3 separate regions of the Homo sapiens genome follow, and all the other regions are linked to region 3. Evidence: promoter capture Hi-C in human tissues and cell types (Jung and others, 2019). All regions are on one chromosome and are shown on one strand. The core of a region is centred on a gene start or on the middle of the fragment in contact, and the rest is flanking DNA. Distances in the headings are between cores, read along the strand shown.

Evidence for each region. The method cuts DNA at HindIII sites, captures the fragments that hold promoters and counts their contacts. A contact is called where the count stands out against the background at its distance.
Region 1: a contact is called between a fragment that was not itself captured here and the fragment with the promoter of IPO5 in region 3, in 3 of the 25 tissues and cell types used here (IMR-90 fibroblasts, lymphoblastoid cells and mesenchymal stem cells).
Region 2: a fragment that was not itself captured here is called in contact with the fragment with the promoter of IPO5 in region 3 in 1 of the 25 tissues and cell types used here (lymphoblastoid cells).

What each region holds. Positions count from the first base shown.
Region 1 is chr13:98,714,434-98,717,970 of GRCh38, forward strand. It overlaps SLC15A1 (solute carrier family 15 member 1), which reads right to left. Exons shown (of 23, transcript NM_005073.4): 9 at 1,445-1,527. Among named protein-coding and RNA genes, the nearest start is that of SLC15A1, 36 kb to the right of the region's middle. The HindIII fragment of the contact is 3,323 bases long and covers 590-3,537 here.
Region 2 is chr13:98,823,324-98,826,896 of GRCh38, forward strand. It overlaps DOCK9 (dedicator of cytokinesis 9), which reads right to left. Exons shown (of 53, transcript NM_001366683.2): 44 at 3,507-3,564; 45 at 1,075-1,181. Among named protein-coding and RNA genes, the nearest start is that of DOCK9-AS1, 7.0 kb to the right of the region's middle. The HindIII fragment of the contact is 3,286 bases long and covers 1-2,950 here.
Region 3 is chr13:97,951,620-97,955,227 of GRCh38, forward strand. IPO5 (importin 5) reads left to right here and starts at 2,056. Exons shown (of 29, transcript NM_002271.6): 1 at 2,056-2,097; 2 at 2,500-2,579. The HindIII fragment of the contact is 20,218 bases long and covers 1-3,608 here.

The DNA of each region.
Region 1 (3,537 bases), core at 1,001-3,500, 760 kb after region 3:
ATCACCTGAGGTCAGGGGTTTGAGACCAGCCTGGCCAACATGGCAAACCCTGTCTCTACAGAAATAGAAAACTTAGCCAGGTGTGGTGGTGTGTGCTTATAGTCCCAGCTACTTGGTAGGCCGAGGCAGGAGAATCGCTTGAACTGGGAGGCAGAGGTTGCAGTGAGCTGAGAGTGCACCACTGCCCTCCAGCCTGGGCGACAGAGCAAGACTCCATCTCAAAAAAAAAAAAAAAAAAAGAAATGAAATATAATACAATAATCTAACGCAATAAGGCCAGGTAAGATAAAGTAAGTGATCTAAAATTATCTTAAGGCTGCCTTTTCATCCATAAGATTCACACATGTGATTTTTTTTTAATAAATGACACATTTACCTCCAGTTATACAACATATACAGTATGTTCACTAAAAAAATGGGGAGTGTATAAGGAAAAAAATCATTTGATTCCATTATCTAAGGATTCTACTCTCAACATTTATTTCCCACCCATAAATGTATGTGTATATGCATATCCTATGGAGGTACTTATGGAAGAAACCATATTCTGCACATTCCTATTACTACATATTCCTTAAAAACAAGACTGCTCCCGGCTGCATGCTATGCCAGAGATGAACTGTAAGTTCAGCACTGTCTTCCTATTTGCAGCAATTTGTGGGCTTACATTTTTGCTATTATAAGTATTACAATGATAATCTTTGTACATGAGTCTGTGTTCACTTTTTAAATATTTTTTTCTTACTCTAGTTTTGTTTTGAGACAGAGTCTCCCTCTGTCGCCCAGGCTGGAGTGCAATGGCACAATCTCGGCTCACTGCAACCTCTGCCTCCCAGGTTCAAGCAATTCTCCTGCCTCACCCTCCAGAGTAGCTGGGATTACAGGCACCCGCCACCATGCCTGGCTAATTTTTGTATTTTTAGTATAGACAGGGTTTTGCCATGTTGGCCAGGCTGGCCTCGAAGTCCTGATCAAGTGATCCGCCCGCCTAGGCCTCCCAAAGTGCTGGGACTACGGGCATGAGCCACAGTGCCTAGCCTATTTTCTTACTCTTAATTCTTGAAAGCAGCATGACTGACTTGAAGCAACTGAACACCTGAGACTCTTGCTACACATTGCCAAATTGAGCCTCCCCATTTTTGATTCACTGCTCCCTGACAAACCTCAAGCACTGTTCTGCCATTTCGACAGATGAAGAGTCACTTTGATTTGCTTTTCTTTGACCATTGATCTTATTTTATAAGCTCAAGAGCCATTTCTATTCTTCCCTTATTAAGTTCTGTTTGTGTCTTTTTGCATTTAGAAGAAGCTACAATTTACTGAAACAGTTAAGAACACTAAAAATATATTTAAAGGAAAGTCAAAGCTTAAATTTTAATTTAAAGAAAGTAGAAGGTTCTGAGGTGGTTAAATAGCCTTGAGAAAGAGCAGCTGAGATACTTACACCGATGCACTTGGCCACTTTACCCATGATGTTGCCCTGTGGCTTGAACTTCTTGTACATCCCACTGCCAAGGACAAACACAACTAGATAGGGCAGAAGAAGACATGTCAGCAAAGCATGTGACCGAGCGCCCTGTGGCCTAGAGAGATGCGCCTTTATTTGAATTATAACTTTGTTTTGGGATAATGGGATTACTTATGGAATGGGTTTACCTTCCAACCTCACAGTTTAGAAAGTGCTTTTAACTCTCACAATCCACAAAAACCTCTGAGTAACGTTAGGTTTGTCTTCTAATATGCAACCTGTAAGCCTAATATCATCTACTTCCCATAGCTTAAGGTAGCTCACGTACACTCACACAGCTATTTAAGCACAAGTTCTATCTCTATTTAAAGGGAGACAAAAGGAATCAGTACTTTCATATAACACATTAAAGTACTATTCTACTAAGACAATAAATGGGGCCAGGCGCGGTGGCTCAAGCCTGCAATCCCAGTACTTTGAGAGGCCGAGGTGGGCGGATCACTTGAGGTCAGGAGTTTGAGACCAGCCTGACCAACATGGTGAAAACCCGTCTCTACTAAAAACACAAAAATTAGCTGGGTGTGGTGATGGGCACCTGTAATCCCAGCTACTCGGGAGGCTGAGGCAGGAGAATTGCTTGAACCCAGGAGGTGGAGGCTGCAGTGAAATGAGATCGTGTCACTGCACTCCAGTCTCGGTGACAGAGTGAAACTCCATATCAAAATAATAAAAATAAAAATAAATGGAGCTGTAATCTTCTGAATGCAATGGGAAGAGAAACCTTTTTCTTTCTCTTTTTAATATTCAGGAAAAAAGAATTAATCTTAATCATATGTGGCAGAAATTTTTTCTGTGGTCACTGTACAGAAGCAGTTAAAATTAATTGCATCTGCAGCTACAGTTTTACAAAAGTTAGAAGCACCTTTTCAATGAGGTCATTCTTCCACGGACCTTTTTGGCAAGTCATATTGTGAAAATAACTTAGAAAAAAACCATTCTAGGGCTGAGTGTGGCAGCTCATGTCTGTAATCCCAGCATTTTGGGAGGCCAAGGCAGGAGGATCACTTGAGACCAGTAGTTCAAGAGCAGCCTGGGCAACATAATGAGATCCTATCTCTATCATCTTATTAAAAAATTTTTAAAAATTTAAAGCATTGTTGCAAGTATATCTGAAAACATAGTCCATATACTAGGATTTCTGATTATCCAATACCACAGTTCAATAATTTAAAAACACCGATAGCTTGAATTCTACTTATTTTTCTCAATTAAGAGGGTCTGAGATTTTTGACAGGTGCTAGCTCCAAGTATGTGCCTATAATATAGATGTTCTTTATAGCTGATAAAAGAGATGTTTACTTATATTCTTGCCCAATGTCAACATTTCTGAATGCAGACATGGATGGTAAAGATGTCCAAGAGATTGAGTCTATGTTTTCTTTTACCACTAATATTTAATCTTTAAGCTTCTGATTAACTGAAACCTAATTCAAGCGTAGGAATTTCTAGAGGCAGTGTTGACACATCGGATTTGGCCTGTTCTCAATTCCTCCAGAAGAAAAAGCATAATCGTTGATAGAGGAATGACTTGTACAGATGAGATAACAATGTACCTAACGTGCTTAATACAGTGTCTGGTGTAAAGCAAGACTTTTGGAAATGCTCTCTGTCTCCTGCCAAGAATTAGAGAGGAGGAGGTATCAATGAGCCTGCTAGGGGACGGTGGCAGTATGGGAAGAACCATGGAAGAAAAGAGACATTAAAAAGAGGAGAATACTGAGCTCTCACCTAAATGAAAGGGGAAAGCTAAATTGCTACACTGTGAGCAAAAGAGATTGAAAACGGTCCTATTCCATGTACTACTAAGATCTGAAAACAAAAATTGGAGAGAGAGACGTGATTGTCAGCTGAGCAAAGCTGATGACAACCTCATTTGAGTGGGAGAAGGGGCTCTGAAGAGTTGAGGTGGCCGCTGGGCTGTTTTCTTTTTGCACCGTTCTTGGCCACCTTTCACATCCAAGCATCCCATGTAGAAAACGCCACCTTTCCTAAAAGCCAATGCCAAGAAC
Region 2 (3,573 bases), core at 58-2,557, 870 kb after region 3:
TGAAAGGTTCCAGGACCATGTTTAGAGAACCACTGACTTATGGCCTAGCTCATGTCATGAGGATGTGTGTTCAAGGGCCTGCCTCCCTGGCATGAGAATGGTTAAAAGCCCCAGTATCAACCGTATGCCACACCGCTGTGGCCCTGGAAATCAGGATGAAGCAGGTGCAGCAGAGGCGGAAGAGACTGACTCCTTTCTTGGCTTGCTCTTTCACTCCATGGGAGAAATTGGACAACTTCAATTTCCTTAAAACATGGGCAGGATTAAAAAGCTTTCCCTCAGCTGTTTCATTCTGCCCTGGGCTGAAGGGAGGCAGGTACACACAAAGAACCCTTCAGGCAGATAGGCATGGAAAAGGAAACAGAGTGAATGAGTGAATGCCAGCAGAAAACTGGCATTTATTCAAATATCTAGTTTTATGTCAAAACTCGCCAGTTACAGATAAGTGGCTGCAAGGCTAACCTGTTTTAGCAAGAAACTGGAATTTGCAGACATTGCTACGGTGATCTAATGTCAAACTTGCTGGTCTCTGTAGGGGGTGCGACAGGGTGGTCCTGTTTCCTAAGGGCCCATAGGACCTGCGCCACAGCACACAAGCGGAGGCAGGGACCAAGGCCCTAGACAGGGGTTGCTATGACCAGGACCCGAGTCTGGCCTCTCATGCCTTTGAGTTTGCCCTGGGGATATGACTGGTGCTGGAGACATTAATTTAAAAGTCAGATTAAAACTAAGAAAACTCATGAGCCAGAGAAATTAACTGCTATAAAGAATGAGAAACTTTATGACCAATATATTGGAACTTTTACCGGATGTGCTCAAGCACTGAGCCTCACTTCATTACAATCTAGCCCCTCATGATCTCTTTCCAAAGAAAGGAGACACTCCTAGAAGGGGAGAACGGCAGAAGCTTTTGCTGCTCTGCATCAGTTGTCTGGAGAATCATCTCAGTTAGAGCTATGTGTATAAGTAGCAGCTACAGGGAGGAAAAAGCCCTGGTCTGATGCACTAGCAATGCAAACAGCAGGCTCCCAGATACCCCAGTACCTGAAAGCCCACATGAGTTCAAGCACGCACCTCGTTGAAATGGACATCCTGCATCCCCACGTCTTCCATCATGGAGGCCTCCTCGTCGATGTTTGGGGTAATGACCCTGAAGGCGGTGCATCCTTGTCTAAACACGCCTAGGAAGAGAGGAAGGAGGGACAGTCAGAGTTAGGAACCTGAACGTGGGTGAACCCTGAGGGTTTTTCCTGCCCTGTGTGTTTCTGTGTTGAATGAAATAACGGATTTTGAAATCTCTTAGGCACCAGGCCAGCATTCACGGGGGTACCTGGGGCTACTGTGTGCTTTTCTTCCCTATAGTGAACCCTAACCTCTTTCACTTTCTTTTCCTTATCCCTTTTTATCTACCTTTATTAAAATGTATGCAATCTCTAAATATTAAACTATAAACTGAGAAATAGGTATTAAATCAAAGTAATAGTAAAATAACAATAAGTGAAAATTTGTCTTGGTAGGATGACTCGTGCTGAGATACTAAGAAAAACAAAGGCAAAGCCAATATAAGAGAAATGTATGATTCAAAAAGAACTGTTTCCTTCAAGCTGTCACCTCACCCACTCTGGCCAGGGAAGAACACATCTCTCAGATGAGAGCTTCCCCACACAACCCAGGTGTAGCTTCGTAGCCATAATGGTGAGCAGACAGGCTGCCTTAGCTGGTTCCCACCCCAGAGGCCCCGGGGTGGGTGGCTGGCTGCATCAACAGAGGGCATGGATGCCTGGGCACTCTGATTCTCCAAGAGGAAATGGTGTTAGCTTAGAGGCAGGATCAATGTCTGGGATAAGGATGTGTTTCTTAAGCAATGACAGCCCATTTGGGACCTTTCCTCGTCTTAGAGTCACTGGAAAACAGCTTTAAGTCAGTTGGACCACGTCAGCTATGCAAAATGATCAAGTGAAGAAGGGCATGAGATGTTCCACTACTCTATTTTGAGATAACTGTTCACAATAAAATAAAACAGAAGTAAAAACTTGAATTGAGACTTCTACATTTAGGGAGAAAGAGGAACACAGGGTATTCTGAAATCAAGCCTTGAAAACGGAGATCCTGAAGTCAGAGATTTTTCTGCTGCACATGATCCCAGGTTTCTACACTATTCATGGATTATCCAGCATCTGCCACTATCCCAGTTTAGTTTTTATTTTGTTATATGGAAACAAGAGTCTCCCATGAAAAGCATTAATCTAGGAACTTGAGGATACATTAACATACAAACTGTAAAATTAAAAAAACCAACCACCCATGCTCTAGGCTATATAGTACATTTCACCACATAACTCGGAGCCAATGGAATAACAAAAATGGTGGCCAAGGTGCTTTCCTCTTGTGCCCACAGGAATAGACCAGCCAACCAGAGAGCCACAGAGTAGGAGGGAAGGAGAGTGAAGTCTGTCCATGCAAAGTTAAAAGGGCAAATCCCCCACCACGGGAGGGCACGTGACCAGGGCAGGGGGTCCCCGGGGGCTGGGCTGATCCTCAGGCTCACCTCCCCGGCTCCTCCTCAGGCAGGCGCTATGGCTGTGGGGGAGAAGGGGCGGCTCCCACTGGACTGCTTCTAAACATGAGGAAATGCATCACCTGATAAAAGGTCTCAACAGGAAATAGTACCGGTATTAAATGAACATGGAGCCCTTTCAAAATTTTTCTCTTTGGGGCTCTGCTGTTTCATTCCAAATAGCCAGCTGCACCAGAAATATACAGTCTGTGGCCTCGGCATCTTTGGTTTCACACTATTTCTCACTTCGTACATCTATTCCTCATTAGCCCAGATCTGGTGCTGCTGTTTTCTCCCATGTAACTCACGCAGACTACCAGCTTTTCTAAGAACCTCAGTATTCTAAAAATAAATGTCACCATTTGGGGCTGTGCTGATTTTGAAGTGGAAATGAGCACCTGCTGTTTAACCAAAGGGAAACTGTGAAAGAATTCATGGCCTGCTCATCTGGGCACAAACGGAGAGTGCACAAATGAAGCGTCACTCCTCGCCCCCTCTCCTTCCTCTGGGAGATAAGGTTTCCATCAGAAAGGCTGCCTTCTTAGACAATAAAGCCAGCTGGGCTGCGTTGCAGAAATGCTGTCTGATAATCTCCCGTTACAACTTTTTGATTGCCTAAACATTCTAGTGGGAACTATCTTAAGGGAAAAATAGTATCTTCTTAGCTCTAGATTTGGCCAGATGCAAAACTCATTAGCTAGTTTTTGCAGAGTGAAGCTATCAGAGGAGGTTACATGACAACATGCCATCTACTTTTCTGTCTAGTCCTGGCAATTTCTGCTGTGCCCACCAATTCAAGCAAACATCACGCCAGGGGATAAAACAACGAATACACTTCACAAACACACAAATCCCCACCTTCCAATCTTCCTGAATGGCTCTCACTTGTCTGCTGCTTTGTGTGGTTTTATACTAATTAATTTCACAAAACATGAGAATAATTCCTTACCTTTCCGTGTGAGATATTCTGCCACTAGGGCTGTTACGTGGACATAGCACATTGCTGCCTATAATAG
Region 3 (3,608 bases), core at 806-3,305:
ACAGTGCAAGACTGTCTCTAAAAAAAGAACTAAAAAATAAACAAATACGTAACTAAATAAAATGTTCTTCATACATTTTGCAGTAACCTTGTAACCATTCAATCGCTGATTCTGAATCTATGTAAATTCTGGTATCAGACCCTTGGTAAGATGCTTGAGCAAAATGCCATGAAGACACCTGCCCACAAGCCAAAATGTTAGAAGTCAGGTGCAGTAGCGAGCTCCTGCAGTCCCAACCACTTGGGAGGCTGAGGCAGGAGGATCTCTTGAGCCCATAGTTCGAGACCAGCCTGGGTAACATAATGAGACCCCTGTCTCAAAAACAAAAAAAGAACCAGTGACATAGGATGAGGACGAAGAAGCAAGGAATAGTGCTGAAGAACTTTCAGGATATGCGGGGTGACACTAGAAAGTGCTTAGACATCACACGTTACCAAGAAAAAAATGTGACCTATACAAAGGAGTCTGCCCATGTCCTATGAAACAATTTAAAAATCAAAAATAGGCCGGGTGCGTTGGCTCATGCCTGTAATCCCAGCACTTTGGGAGGCCAAGGTGGGCAGATTACGAAGTCAGGAGATCGAGACCATCCTGGCTAACATGGTGAAACCCCGTCTCTACTAAAAATATAAAAATTAGCCGAGCATGGTGGCGCGTGCCTGTAATCCCAGCTACTTGGGAGGCTGAGGCAGAAGAATCGCTTGAACCAGAGAGGCAGAGGTTGCAGTGAGCTGAGATCACACCAGCCTGGGCAACAGAGAGAGACTCTGTATCAAAAAAAAAAGAAATAAATAATTACAAAAATGGAGTTTGGCTTTAATTAATGATCTGAATTAATAAAAACAACAAAATGCTAGGCCAGCGCAGGGGATCATGCCTGTAATCCCAGCACTTTGAGAGGCCGAGGCAGATGGATCACTTGAGGTCAGGAGTTCAAGACCAGCCTGGCCAACGTGGTGAAACCCCATCTGTACTAAAATACAAAAATTATTCGGGCATGGTGGTGGGCACCTGTAATCCCAGCTACTTGGGAGGCTGAGGCAGGAGAATTTCTTGAACCCGGGAGGTGGAGGTTGCAGTGAGCCGAGATCACGCCACTGCACTCCAGCCTGGGCAACAGAGTGAGAATCTGTCTCAAAAAAAAAAGAAAAGCTAAATGTACAAAGCTAGGGCATTGAGATCCATGAGAATACAGGGCAAAATTGATGTTAATCTGTCATATAAAAATTTAATTACATCCCATAAATATCTGCAATTTTTTATTGTTTATTTTTTGAGACAAGGTCTCACTCTGTTGCCCAGGCTGGAGTGCAGTGGTGCAATCACAGCTCACTGCAGCTTCAACCTCCCCCGGCTCAGATGATCCTCCCACTTCAGCTTCCTGAGCAGCTGGGACTACAGGTGTGCACTGCCACACGCATCTAATATTTGCATTTTTCATAGAGATGGGGTTTTGCCATGTTGCCAAGACTGGTCTTGAACTCCTGAGCTCAAATGATCCTCCCACCTCGGCCTCCCAAAGTGCTGGAATTACAGGCATGAGCCACCCCGCCCAGCCAATATTTATAATTATTACATGTCAACTAAAATAAAAGAAAAAGTAATTTAATCACAAACCCAGTTGACATAAACGTATGTAATATGGAATTTCCTGTTGTTTCCATACAAATTTATCTTTGTCTATTTGAGAGATCAATTTCTCTTTTCAGTATTGAGTAGTGAATAGAATCAAAATCTGTGGGTAAAGAAGCTACTCAGACAGTTTCAAAACTGAATTTGATGACACATTTGTACCCAATCTGAGTGGCCCCCAGCAACATGGGTTTTGAGTTCTCAAAGGCCAATAGATAGCTCCCTTTCCTTTCCACAGCTTTGGGAGCTTGGGCTACCCTGTAACGTCTAAATGCCTGTGCAGTGTGGGCCTGTGAAGCTGGCAGGGTGGGCAGTGTAAATGCCCACTAGCAGGAGCCAGCTGACCTCCTGCGTGTCACAATAGCAGCCAGGTGTCTCCACGGTGACGTCTCTGAGCCAGGAGGTCAGAACTGTGGGATTGATGACCTCCCACAACTGGAGCAGCCGGGAACAGCTCTGACCACAGTAAGTCATCCCAAAACCTCACATTCAGATGAAACCATTTAAGAATTTCATCTGCACTGAGGAACAATTTAGCGTGATACTGGAGGGAAAGAGTTTCCCTGTGAGATCCAGGAGGTCCCTTTAGCTCGTCTCCTGACGTCACCACAGTCATACCCAAGAGGAAGGAAACGTCAGAGACAATGATTTGGAGAACATTCTACACAAAAACCAAGTATGAAACAATGACGATTTCATGATGGCTCATTGTTCTTTGGTATTGTGCCTTACGTGAGCTGGGGACTAACTCTGTATCCTTAAGGAGGCATCACTTGATTAGAGTTGCCCAAAAGAATGTGGGTTATTATCCTAAAGGTCTGTGTTGCCATCCTGAAACAGTCAGAAATCAGTTTTTATTTCACTTAGGTGGTTCCGGGGAGAAGCCTTTCCAGGACCCATGTGTAGGCACAACTGTTTTCCCTGATCAGGATACTTGCGGCACTCAAGTGAGTCTAGAATTATCAGATTTTGTTCTGTCTCTCTTCACTGTGAATTCTATTCTTTATTTCCTTTAAAACAAAAAGCTCCTGCTATTTTCTCCTATAATTATGATATCTGTTTCTTGATCATTTTACCTTCTATTCACCAATTAATTGAAATCCAACCCATCAGGATTATCTACCCTGCTTTCCTATAGGGAGAATAAAAAGTGCTTAGAAGCAGTATGATTTTCACTGCCTTTAATTTCTCAAATCCCAAGATGTTCCATTTAAAATCTTTAGAGTATCTATTTTGTCTTCTGTACATTATGGTTGTATTCCCTCAGAGGCCGAGTATATTTTATCTTAGTTTTCAGAGATCACTAAAGTCAAGTAAATGAAGGAAAACAGAATTCATTTTCATTATGGGAAAACAAAATCAATCCCTAAGTAGTCAAAAGATTACTTACTTAAGGAACCACCTGGTTAACTTCTTCTCCTAGAACTTAATCCCCTAACTAGGGGTAAAAAAGGCTCATTGTCATCTTATAAAGTATTAGATACCAGGGACTTGTCAAATGCTAATGCCTTTATTATAGAATGTTTAATTTAGACCTTCCTAAACAGTTTTGCTTTCTTCCGTCATTTGTCTGTGATGGAACCTCAAAGACACTAACTAGTATGCGAGACAGATTTGTGTTGGAACATTGTGTTAGCTTTCCAGTAGAGTTAAAACTCTGGAATGCAATTATAAACCTCCAAATGAAAAATACCGGCCGGGCACAGTGGCTCACACCTATAATCCCAGCACTTTGGGAGGCTGAGGTGGGAGGATCACTTGGGCCTAGGAGTTTAAGGTCAGCCTAGGCAACATAGTGAGACCCTGTCTCTACAAAATATAGAAAAAAGTAGCCAGTTATGGCAGAATGCATCTGTAATTCCAGGGACTCAGGAGGCTGAGGTGAGAGGATTCCTTGAGCTGGGGAGGTCAAGACTGCAGTGAGCCATGACTGTGCCACTGCACTCCAGCCTGGGTGACAGAGTGGGACCCTATCA